Linked DNA regions of Homo sapiens: region 2 is linked to region 1. Evidence: promoter capture Hi-C in human tissues and cell types (Jung and others, 2019). All regions are on one chromosome and are shown on one strand. Each heading gives the region's core, a stretch centred on a gene start or on the middle of the fragment in contact. The rest is flanking DNA. Distances are from core to core; before and after follow the strand shown.

Region 1 (5,495 bases), core at 2,996-5,495:
CCCTTCTCTAATCTATCTGAAAAACAAGGCTTTCAGTCATCCTCTATTCTTTTTTTTCTTTTTCTTTTTTTTTTTTTTTGAGATGGTGTTTTGCTCTTGTTGCCCAGGCTGGAGGGCAATGGCACGATCTTGGCTCACTGCAACCTCTGCCACCTGGGTTCAAGTGATTCTCTTGCTTCAGCCTCCCGAGTAGCTGGGAATACAGGCGTCTGCCACCACGACCAGCTAATTTTTGTATTTTTAGTCAAGACAGGGTTTCAACATGTTGGCCAGCCTGGTCTCAAACTCCTGTCCTCAGGTGATCCACTCACCTCGGCCTCCCAAAGTCCTGGGATTACAGGTGGGAGCCACAGGCACCCGCCAGCAGGCCCTGCTAATTTTTTTGTATTTTTAGTAGAGACGGGGTATCACTGTGTTAGCCAGGATGGTCTCGATCTCTTGACCTCGTGATCTGCCACCTCGGCCTCCCAAAGTGCTGGGATTACAGGCGTGAGCCACCACGTCCGGCCTTTTATTTTATTTTTTTGAGAGAGGGTCTCATCCTGTTGCCTGGACAGTGGCGTGATCAAAGCTCACTGCAGCCTTGAACTCCTAGGTACAAGCAATCCTCCCACCTCAGCCTCCCTAGGAGCTGAGACTATAGGCACACACCATGATATCTGGCTTTTTATTTTTTAGAGTCAGGGTTTCACTTATGCTGCCCAGGCTGGTCTCAAACTCCTGGCCTCAGGCAATCCTCCCACTTCAGCCACCCAAAGTGCTAGGATTACAGGTGTGAGCAACTGCAGACAGCCTCTCTTACTCATTTTTTTCTTCTGAGTATTATTTTTTTTTTTGAGATGGAATCTCACTCTGTCACCCAGCCTGGAGTGCAGTGGTGCGATCTCGGGTTGCTGCAACCTCTGCCTCCCAGGTTCAAGCAATTCTCCTGCCTCAGCCTCCCAGCTAGCTGGGATTACAGGTGTGCGCCAGCATGCCTGGCTAATTTTTGTATTTTTAGTAGATGGGGTTTCACCATGTTGGTCAGGCTGGTTTTGAACTCCTGACCTCAGGTGATCCACCCCCCTCAGCCTCCCAAAATGCTGGGATTACAGGTGTGAGCCACTGCACTTGGCCTTCTTCAGAGTATCTATCACAACTTGAAATCATCTTATTTTTCATTTTATTTACATGCTTATCTGTCCTTCATAGTAAATAAGCTCCAGAACAGAGACTTTGTTTTGTTCCTGCCCAGTTCCTAAAGTAGTACCTGGCAAAACAGGCCATTGGTGAATATTTACTGAATAAATTAATATCACAACATTAACTCATCTTAGGTGGTCTCTAGGCTTCCTGTCTTACTTCATTTAAATCCACCACCTACAACAGTCAGTGTGATCAGATCACTCACCTTAAGTCCTTTCATGACCCTTTTTTCTTACCTGATGAAGAACACACACACAAGACCCTCCGTGACAAATATCCTGACCTCGTGAGCTCAGAGAGGAAGCAGCATGTAAGATAGACTGAATGAATAGTGTTCACCAGACGGAGAAGAGAAAGGACACTACGGCTCAAAAGCTCAAAAAACACAATGCTTTGCAACAGTAATTTATGATGTGAAGAGCTGGGTGGGTTGATACAGAAATCCAGCTGGAAATAGATTTTGAAGATGCTCACAAACCACATTAGAGTGAGGACGGCAGGGCGCGGTGGCTCACGCCTGTAATCCCAGCACTTTGGGAGGGCGAGGCAGGCGGATCACAAGGTCAGGAAATGGAGACCATCCTGGCTAACATGGTGAAACCCTGTCTCTACTAAAAAATACAAAAAAATTAGCAGGGCGTGGTGGCGGGCGCCTGTAGTCCCAGCTACTCGGGTGGCTGAGGCAGGAGAATGGCGTGAACCCGGGAGGCGGAGCTTGCAATGAGCCGATATCGCACCACTGCACTCCAGCCTGGGTGACAGAGCGAGACTCCGTCTCAAAAAAAAAAAAAAAAACAAAAAAAAAAAACCGTGAGGACTTAAAAGGAGAAAGAAAATACAATAAAAATTAAATAAAAAGAATGATGACTTGATGCCCAAAGCATGTACAGTCTTAGAAACTTTATAGGAAGGGGAATGACAGGATTCAATGAATGTCTTAGGACATAAAAAAAGCGGGGGGCGACAGTGAGGAAAATGGATGGGATAGGAAGAGACAAGAGACAAACACCAGTGAGAAGACTACTCAATGCGACATAGATCATATTAAAAGATAAAGGCCAGAAACACAGCAGATGAGATGGAGATGAGCAGAGATTCAAAGGAGCTACACTAAACACTCATCTATTTTATTCAAATTTAACCTTATATCAAAGCAGGAAGTTTCCTTCAATATGGCCTATAAACTTAAACCAATGAAAAAAACAGTCCCCTAATCACTGTGGACCTTATTCTTCAACTACACACATTACACAGCTCTTACCAAACAGGAGTGCAGCTAGGATATGCCTGTCTCCTCCAACAGACTGAACAGCAGGTCTTCAAAGGCAGGGAGTGTGTCATATCCATTATTCAACACTCAATCTTTGCGAATGAATAAATGAACAAGTAGAAGGCTTTATGACTGAGGATTTGAAAACTGGATGGGCTTTAGGTCTAAAAGGGTGATTTCGGGCAAGCGCAATGGTATGAGCAAGTAGGAATGGTAAATGTGGGGAACACAGACACTATTCTAAAATAAGGAGGAAGATGTTGGTCCCCTGGTCCAGCCTTGGACAGGCCATGCCGTTTTCCTGTCTAATAGTCTCTCCCTCATCCACCTTTCCTCATTTCTTATGGCTCATTCCCTCACTTCTTACATATCTCTGCTCAAATATCATCTCACCAGAGGCCTTCCCTGAACAACCTATCCAAAATTTCACAGCACATTCCTTATACCCTCTCAAGGCCTTTGTTCTGTTGTTTTTCTTCTTAGATTATTGAAGAGATCCTCTAATGATTTTTATTCCTCTGTACCTAAAATAGAATTGGCTTAATTTCCAAGTGAAGTTCATTTGTCAGTTATTGTGACCAGAACCTACTAAAATCCACAGCACACTGAGTTTTTCTTTAATTTTAAATTAAATTCACTGTAAAAATTTTAAGTTCCATCACTTTTAAATCCTGTCACTTAAGTTCTTTCCAATAAAACCTGGATGCCACAAAGAATATGAATTTCTTGCGGGAAACATTCCGGACAAGGTCAGGAAATAATTTTATATTCCTTAATGTGGAAGATTCTAGGAATGGGAGCAATAATCCATAAAGAAAACCATTGAGATTAAGTAATTTCGAGGAACTAGAGCAATTAAGTACCAAATGCAAGATTTTAGGAGCACAGACTGTAGAGAGACAATAGGATTTTATGCCTTTTTAAATAAGTGGTTTACTTTGAGAGGCCAAGGCGGAAGGATCGCTTGGGCCCAGAAGTTCGAGATCAGCCTGGGCACCATAGCGAGACCCCCGCCCGTCTCTATCAAGAAAAAAAAAAGTGGTTTTTACAAAGTTAATTTCACAGGAGTCAATGACCAGAGGAAGCCACATGTGGTCAAAACAGCCCAGGTGAATCCCAGCCTCAGCCACGCGATATTATAGGCAGATGTGTGCTCCAGGGTGACTTTCTCTTGTCTGCTTTTCCCACGAAGAAGCGGAAAATTCTGCGAAGCGGCAAAATACATTTAAGCTTTTTGGGCCGGAGTTATTCTGAAGAGCAGGGCAAAGGCGGCCAGTGGCGACTTCAAATACTGCACTTGAGTAAAACAACTATTGGACCCGGGGCCCGAAGACTCATGTTAGCGACAGCCGAGACAGAGGATGGGGTAAAGAAATGCACGCCCAAATTCAAGTCGCCCTGGAGTCCCCACCCCGGGCCCCGCCGCCTCCGAGTTCAGGGTCCGCCCGGCCCCGCACGTCCCGCCGTCTCGTCGCTCGGGACATTGGCGCCCTACCTGCAGGCTTGTCTGCAGCCATCTTCCCGCTTCGACTCGGGTTCTTCCCTGCAGGTGGCGTGGCCCTGACTCCCGCCGCCGGGCTGGCCGCTGTCCTGGACCTCCGAGGACAACTCTGTGCCTACCCCGGCTCCGGGCCCCCAGGTTCCGGCTAGAGGAGTGGGCAGACGGCGGGCTGAGGAAGTGACGAGAGCTAGTTCCCGTCGTCTAGCAACAGCAACAGCTTCCCCACCAAGGGACCGCCACAGCCTCCCGCCATACACAGCTTCCGCCTCACGGCGTCCCGGTACCCACTACTTCCGGGGGCGGCAGCCTGCCGCGCCTGGAGCGCCGGCGTGGGAACTGCTACTGGCCCCGCCCCACGCCGACGTCCCCTCCGCGCCCCGCCTCCGGCCGGACGTACTCTGGCTGGAACCTCTGGATGTTCACAGGGCTGACGCGGTGGGACGTACGCGCGTCTGTCCTTTGCTTACTCTAATTAAAACACCGAGGTGTCAGAGCTTTTGTCCCTCAATGTTACATAATATTACAATAACCACATCTGACATTTATGTGCTAAGCACTGAGCCCTGCACTTGGTCTGTACTATCTCATTGATTTCTTGCAACCCCATGAGAGAGGCGCTGTTGAGGATTCCCGTTTAAAAAGAAACGCCTTTTATTTTAGAATAGTTGTAGTTGTGCAGAAAAGTTGCAAAGATGACACCTAGAGTTCCTGTCTCCTCACCTAGTTTCTCCTATTGTGAACATCTTAATTATTTTACTATGTTACGTTGATCACATCTAAGAAACCAGTTTGATTGGCGCACTATTACTCACTAAACTACACATTTTATTCACATTTACCAGCTTTCTTTCAATGTCCTTTTTTTGTTGTTGTTCCAGGATCCTGTCCAGGACACCATATTGCATTTATTCATTATGTCGTCTTAGGCTATTTTTGGCTGTGGCAGTTTCTCAGATTCTTCTTGTTTTTGATGACCTTGACAGTTTTGAAGAGTTACTCCTCAGATATTTGGTGGAATGTGCCTCAATTTGGGTTTGGCCAATATTTTTCTCATGGTTAGACTGGGGTTTTGGGTGTTTAGGAGGAAGACCACAAGGTGACTGGCTGTTCTCATCACATAGAATCAAGGGTACATGCTGTCAAAATGACATCACTGATCATGTTAACCTTGATTACCTCTCTAAGGTAGTGCTTGCCAGTTTTCTCTACTGTGCAATTACTCCTCCTACCCTTCCACACTACTTTGGAACCAAGTCAATAAATGCAACCCACACTCAAGGTGGGAAGGCGGGGTATTTAAGCTCTACCTCCTGCAGTGGGGAGTATGTACATAAATTATCTTCCCCAAGGGAAGTTTGCCTCTTCTCCCTCACTTAGCTATTTATATCAGTATGGACTCATGGATGTTTATCTTATAATGGTTACATTCCAATACTACATTATTTTGTTGCTAAAATTGTCCCAGCTTTGTTAATTGGGAGATTTTTCAGGTTTGTACCTGTTTTTTTCTTTTTTTTTAACTTTTGTTTTAAACTTTCT
Region 2 (5,452 bases), core at 1,288-3,787, 520 kb after region 1:
ACCAAAATCTCTTCAGTGTAATGTGTTTGGGACTTGCTAGGCTAGAAAAATGGGTTCCACTGATGTATAAACATACATTCGACACCTTCAAGAGGTGTACAGACATAGTGTTTCCCAGACTCACTTGACCTTTCCAGGGAACACCTGGAATAATCACTGGCTCTTGGGACAGTCATTTCCTAGGGAACACAATTAGAGGAATACCAAGTTAAAGCAGATTTTCTAAAGTAGTGGTTCACATATTGTAGTAAGCATCAGAAACACAGATGCCACACCCCTTCAGAAGTCCAGGGTGGGACCTGGGAACCTGCATTTCTGAGACCGCCCCTTCCCCCACCCCCCCACAAGTGAAGCTGATGCTGCTGCACCGAGGACCGCCCTTGGAGTGGCACTTGTTGAGAGGATGGCCTGCATAGATCTCAGCTGCAGGAAGCCCTCCTATGGCCTCAGGAAAGGCTGCACATGGCATTTGCACAACCAATGAGTCGGAGGTCAAATCAGCCCAGTGACTTCTCAGAGGGTCATGCACCTTGGCACTGCACTTGACTCCTGGCTCTGTCCCTGCTCACTAGGTGACCAGGAGGAGTGACTGCATCTAACAAGAGGACTAACAGTAGCCCCTTGCACCCCCCAGTGGATCTGTGATGTTTAAGATAAATGTTTGCTAAAAAATGCACTAACTAGCCTAAAGCATCATACAAGTGTCTGTTAATCAGAAGAATGTGCCAGCCACAGCAGGAAAATCCCAGATGAATTTTCTGTCTTGTTACCTCTGAGCCTTGACGAAGGCATATTCTGACAACTAACGAAGAGAAAAGAGGCTAAAAATGCAGACAACTGCAGTGAGGGGGAAATACATGAGTGGATTATCTAATTAAAAATGCCTGATTGTTAAAAAAACAAAGGTCAGCCCACAATCAAAGTAGTTAATTATGCTGGCTTTGAGATAGTGTTTAAAAGTTAAATATGTTGATCTTTGAACACACTCACTCCTCCACTCTACCATGTTAATGCTGGTTAAAATTTAACACTAGAAAAATGAGAAAAAAAATCCTCCACTCAAATACATATGAATTACACCTAAAATATTTGGCTGAGATCGTTCCAATCTTATAAGCTACGATTGTGTGGAAATTTCATAAGCAATTTTGAAAAAAAGACATCAAATTTTGGCTCATAGAAACATCCACAGAATGAGGAATAAACCACCATTCACATGTTTGCATGTGTGTTTAGTTACTGCCCAGTACATCTTTGCTAATGAACTGCCTCTCACAATTCAAAAACGAACCTGTAAAAATTCATACATATCCGTGATGAGATTACAGTCAAACATCATGTTGCCAAGTCCTGGTTTCCACGTGAACCCAAAAGATTGATCAGAAAGGCAGAACTTCCCCCAACACGTTGCATGATTCACTTTATGTATGCTCTGGATGGCTCTGAAGACAAGACAACATCTCTTGAACTGGTCTGCTTTCGTAGCAGATCTGATACACTGCAGTAAACAATGGAAACCTAGTTGGGAGGAAATGTGAAAAGACAAAGTTAGGCCACTGGATTTACCTCAGAGAATAAGTTAGGTTTTCTGTCCTAACAGATTGCAGGTTAGTATGTGACTATGGAAAACACAGTGAGCACTTTCTACATTCCTTTATTATTTGGTCTGCAGAGAGCCTCTGGAATGTGGCTGTCAGATCCTGGGGCAACCTAGACCATCCTCTGCCTAATTAAGCTTGGAGCACACTGTCCACAACCAAGTCACACGGTGATCCTACCAGGGCAAACTGTTGTCATTTACATAGGAGCTGTGGCTCCAACTCTTGGTCAAATCTTGGAGGAGTCTATATTCTGTCATTATTTTAAAAGTTGTAAAAATAAATTTTTAAATTGCAAGGAGGCATTGCTCTCCCTTCTCCAAAAAGAATCATCCCAAGGTAACAAATAATGTAGGCTGGAATGCTCCCGCAAGAATCCGAGTGAGGACCCACGATTAGCAAAGCACTCATCTTATGTCAGAAGCTTGATTTATCTTACCTTTTCTTCCAAGATGTGAATACAGATATAAGTGAAAAATCACTAAAGAAATAATTTCATCAGGCTTTTTTTCTTTTTTCTTTTCTTTTGCGACAAAGTCTCACTCTATCGCCCAGGCTGGAGTGCGGTGGCATGATCTTGTCTCACTGCAACCTCTGCCTCCTGGATTCAAGCGATTCTGCTGCCTCAGTCTCCTGAGAGTAGTTGGGATTACAGGTGTGTGCCACCACGCCTGGCTAATTTTTGTATTTTTAGTAGAGACGGGGTTTTACCATGTTGGTCAGGCTGGTCTCAAACTCCTAACCTCATGATCCACCCACCTCGGCCTCCCAAAGTGCTGGGATTACAGGCGTGAGCCACCGCGCCGGCCCAGGCTTTTAAATACACACACACACATAGCTCAAAGTGAGCTTGGCAGAATCAATAGAGTCTTGAAAGGCAATCCTGAAAATTAGCTGGACAGAACCTTATAATGATAATTTTTAAGAAGAACAAATAGTACTAATAGATCACATGTCTTTATGAGAGTCTATCGTTGTAGGGTTGTTTCTTCATTGTAGTTTTTTTAAGGTACGGAATGTTTTGCTACTTTTTTGTGGAATGTTTTATTTTTTTGGAGTCAGGTAGACCTAATCAACTCTGACTCTACAGCCTACTAACTCTGGGCAAGTTTCACAATCCTTCTGACCCTGTTTGCCCATCTGTAAAATGGGACTGGATACACAGCCTTGCTGCAAGTATTAAATGACTTATGTGTGAAGCACACAGTACACACTTGGCAAATGGTGGATGTGCAGTAACAACAGCTTATAATAGCAGCCACAAGATGGATAGTGTGTCCTGGACCGAGAAAGCTCCCTGAGGACTGGGACCAAGTCTGTTTTTTTCACTACTGTATCCTCAGTGCCTGGCACCATGCACGGCAAGGGGCAGGTGCTCCGTGAGAATTCGTTGAATAAATTCCTGTGGATTGGATTTAAAGCCTAGAAACTTCAGCCCCTTTCTTTGTCCTTCCATGCTATGTTTCCCTGTTCCTAAAACAAGAACAATGTATATGTCCCCAAAGCAGTGTGGTAGCAGATGACTGGCCATCCAAAGCCATTTCCAACCTGCTTCTCCCTTTCCCCAAGGTTGGAAGAGACTACTCACCTTCCTAGCCTTTCACCTAGAATTGGTCAAGTAACACAGTCCTAGGCAGCAAGACATAATATATCTGCTGAAGGTTTCTCGAGGAAGATTTCTCGAGAGGCACTAGAGGAAAAATCTGTTACCCCAGACTACTCTTGTTCCCTTCCTGAGTGTAAAAGTGAATGTGATGCCTGGAGCTGCTGCAGCCATCTTGAGGTTCAAGGGAAAGCCAACAGGATCACTGAGATTCTAATCCAGAGCCAGAGCCACTGGGCCAACACTTTAATAATGTTCACCTCCATATTCCCTGTTATAACTGTGTGTTGGTCTTGCAGCTGAAAGCACTCCCAACTTTTAAAACTATCATTTCCAAAGTGCATTCTGTGGAAGGGATGTTAACAAGAGATATGAAGTGTGTGGAAGAGAAATTTCTACAGACGAGTAACTTGTTTAATCCTTACAATCACCCCATGAGGTAGAAAATATTGTCCCCATTCTATATATGAGTAAATTGAACCACAGTTTTGGACTCTGAAGCCAATGATCAACCATTAGGCTACACTGCCCATCTAAATATTATTTTCTATTACATAAAATGCTAAAAGGACAATTAGATCAGTTTGGAAGACTCTCTAAATAAAGTTAGAGGTGAAAGGAAGAAAAAGACAACATTTCATTTAAAAAAATGACAAACCAGAGGCCTGGGTGTGCTGGCTCACGCCTGTAATCTCAGCACTTTGGGAGGTTGAGGCAGGTGGATCACGAGGTCAGGAGATCGAGACCATCTTGGCTAACACAGTGAAACCCCGTCTCTACTAAAAATACAAAAACTTAGCTGGGCGTGGTGGCGGGCGCCTGTAGTCCCAGCTACTCAGGAGGCTGAGGCAGAAGAATGGTGTGAACCTGGGAGGTGGAGGTTGCAGTGAGCCAAGATCGTGCCACTGCACTCCAGCCTGGGCGACAGAGCAAGACTCTGTCTCAAAAAAAAAAAAAAAAAAAAAAAAAGGACAAACCAGTCAGCCAGCTATCCCACTAATCAATACTGAGGGCTTAAGATGTTTCAGACTTCAGACTAAGTGCAGGGATGTGCAGTATTATAAATAAAGCCAGGCCAGGCGTGGTGGCTCATGCCTGTAATCCAGCACTTTGGGAAGCCAAGGTGGGCAGATTGCTTGAGGCCAGGAGTTCGAGACCAGCCTGGGCAACGTGGTAAAAACCAGTCTCTACTAAAAATGCAAAAATTAGCTGGGTATAGGGGCACACGCCTGTAATCCCAGCTACTGGAGAGGCTGAGGCAAGAGAATTACTTAAACATGGGAGGCGGAGATTGCAGTGCTGAGATTGCACCATTGCACTCCAGCCTGGGTGACAGAGTGAGACCCAGGAGCTTGCAACATGCACCTCAGAGAACATGTTGTGTACGGGCTGAATTGTGCCCTCCTCCCAATTAATATGCTTAGGTCCTAACCCCTAGTATCTCAGAATGTGACACGGTCTTTGAAAAGGTAATTAAGGGCACTTTGGGAGGCCGAGGCGGGTGGATCATGAGGTCAGGAGATCGAGACCATCCTGGCTAACAAGGTGAAACCCCGTCTCTACTAAAAATACAAAAAATTAGCCGGGCGCGGTGGCGGGCGCCTGTAGTCCCAGCTACTGGGGAGGCTGAGGCAGGAGAATGGCTTGAACCCGGGAAGCGGAGCTTGCAGTGAGCCGAGATTGCGCCACTGCAGTCCGCAGTCCGGCCTGGGCGACAGAGCGAGACTCCGTCTCAAAAAAAAAAAGAAAAGGTAATTAAGGTAAAATGAGAGGCAAAGAAAAGTTCCATTCAAGAAAAGACGGTACCATAGGGAGTAAGAGGATGTACTGCAGGAAGTTACATTGGTGCTAGATTGAGGGGGGCCACATCTGCCTAAGGACCATGTGCTTCACTCTATAAGAGCAGGAGGCCTCTGAATGTGAATGCTCAAGCTGGTAGGGACCATGGTGTTCATCTGGTCTTCCATCTTAATTTTGTGGATAAGAACACCGGGGCACAGAACAGCTAAATACGTGACTTGCCCAAGGCCACAGGGCTAATAAGCCACAGGGCAGCCTTGAATGCTGCCCTCCTGCTATTTTTTCTATAGCAATGGAGAAGAGAAGGGAGGGAGAAGGAAACAGAGGAAGACCGGAGTAGTGGTGGTCAGAATGAAAAAGGAAAAAGGAATCAAAGTAAGAGGTGGTGCAAAGGGAGCACAATAGGCCTCTGCCTTTGGGAGGCAGGTGGTACAAGGAATGGGGAGGAGTC

What was found. Contacts are between HindIII fragments. The study calls those that stand out against the background at their distance.
Region 2: a contact is called between a fragment that was not itself captured here and the fragment with the promoter of CNOT10 in region 1, in 1 of the 25 tissues and cell types used here (pancreas).

What each region holds. Positions count from the first base shown.
Region 1 is chr3:32,683,938-32,689,432 of GRCh38, reverse strand. CNOT10 (CCR4-NOT transcription complex subunit 10) reads right to left here and starts at 4,245. Exons shown (of 19, transcript NM_015442.3): 1 at 3,951-4,245. The coding sequence starts at 3,972. RefSeq lists a silencer at 4,135-4,444. The HindIII fragment of the contact is 8,061 bases long and covers 1,420-5,495 here.
Region 2 is chr3:32,161,880-32,167,331 of GRCh38, reverse strand. It overlaps GPD1L (glycerol-3-phosphate dehydrogenase 1 like), which reads right to left. Exons shown (of 8, transcript NM_015141.4): 8 at 1-1,518. The coding sequence ends at 1,422. Among named protein-coding and RNA genes, the nearest start is that of GPD1L, 58 kb to the right of the region's middle. The HindIII fragment of the contact is 3,505 bases long and covers 785-4,289 here.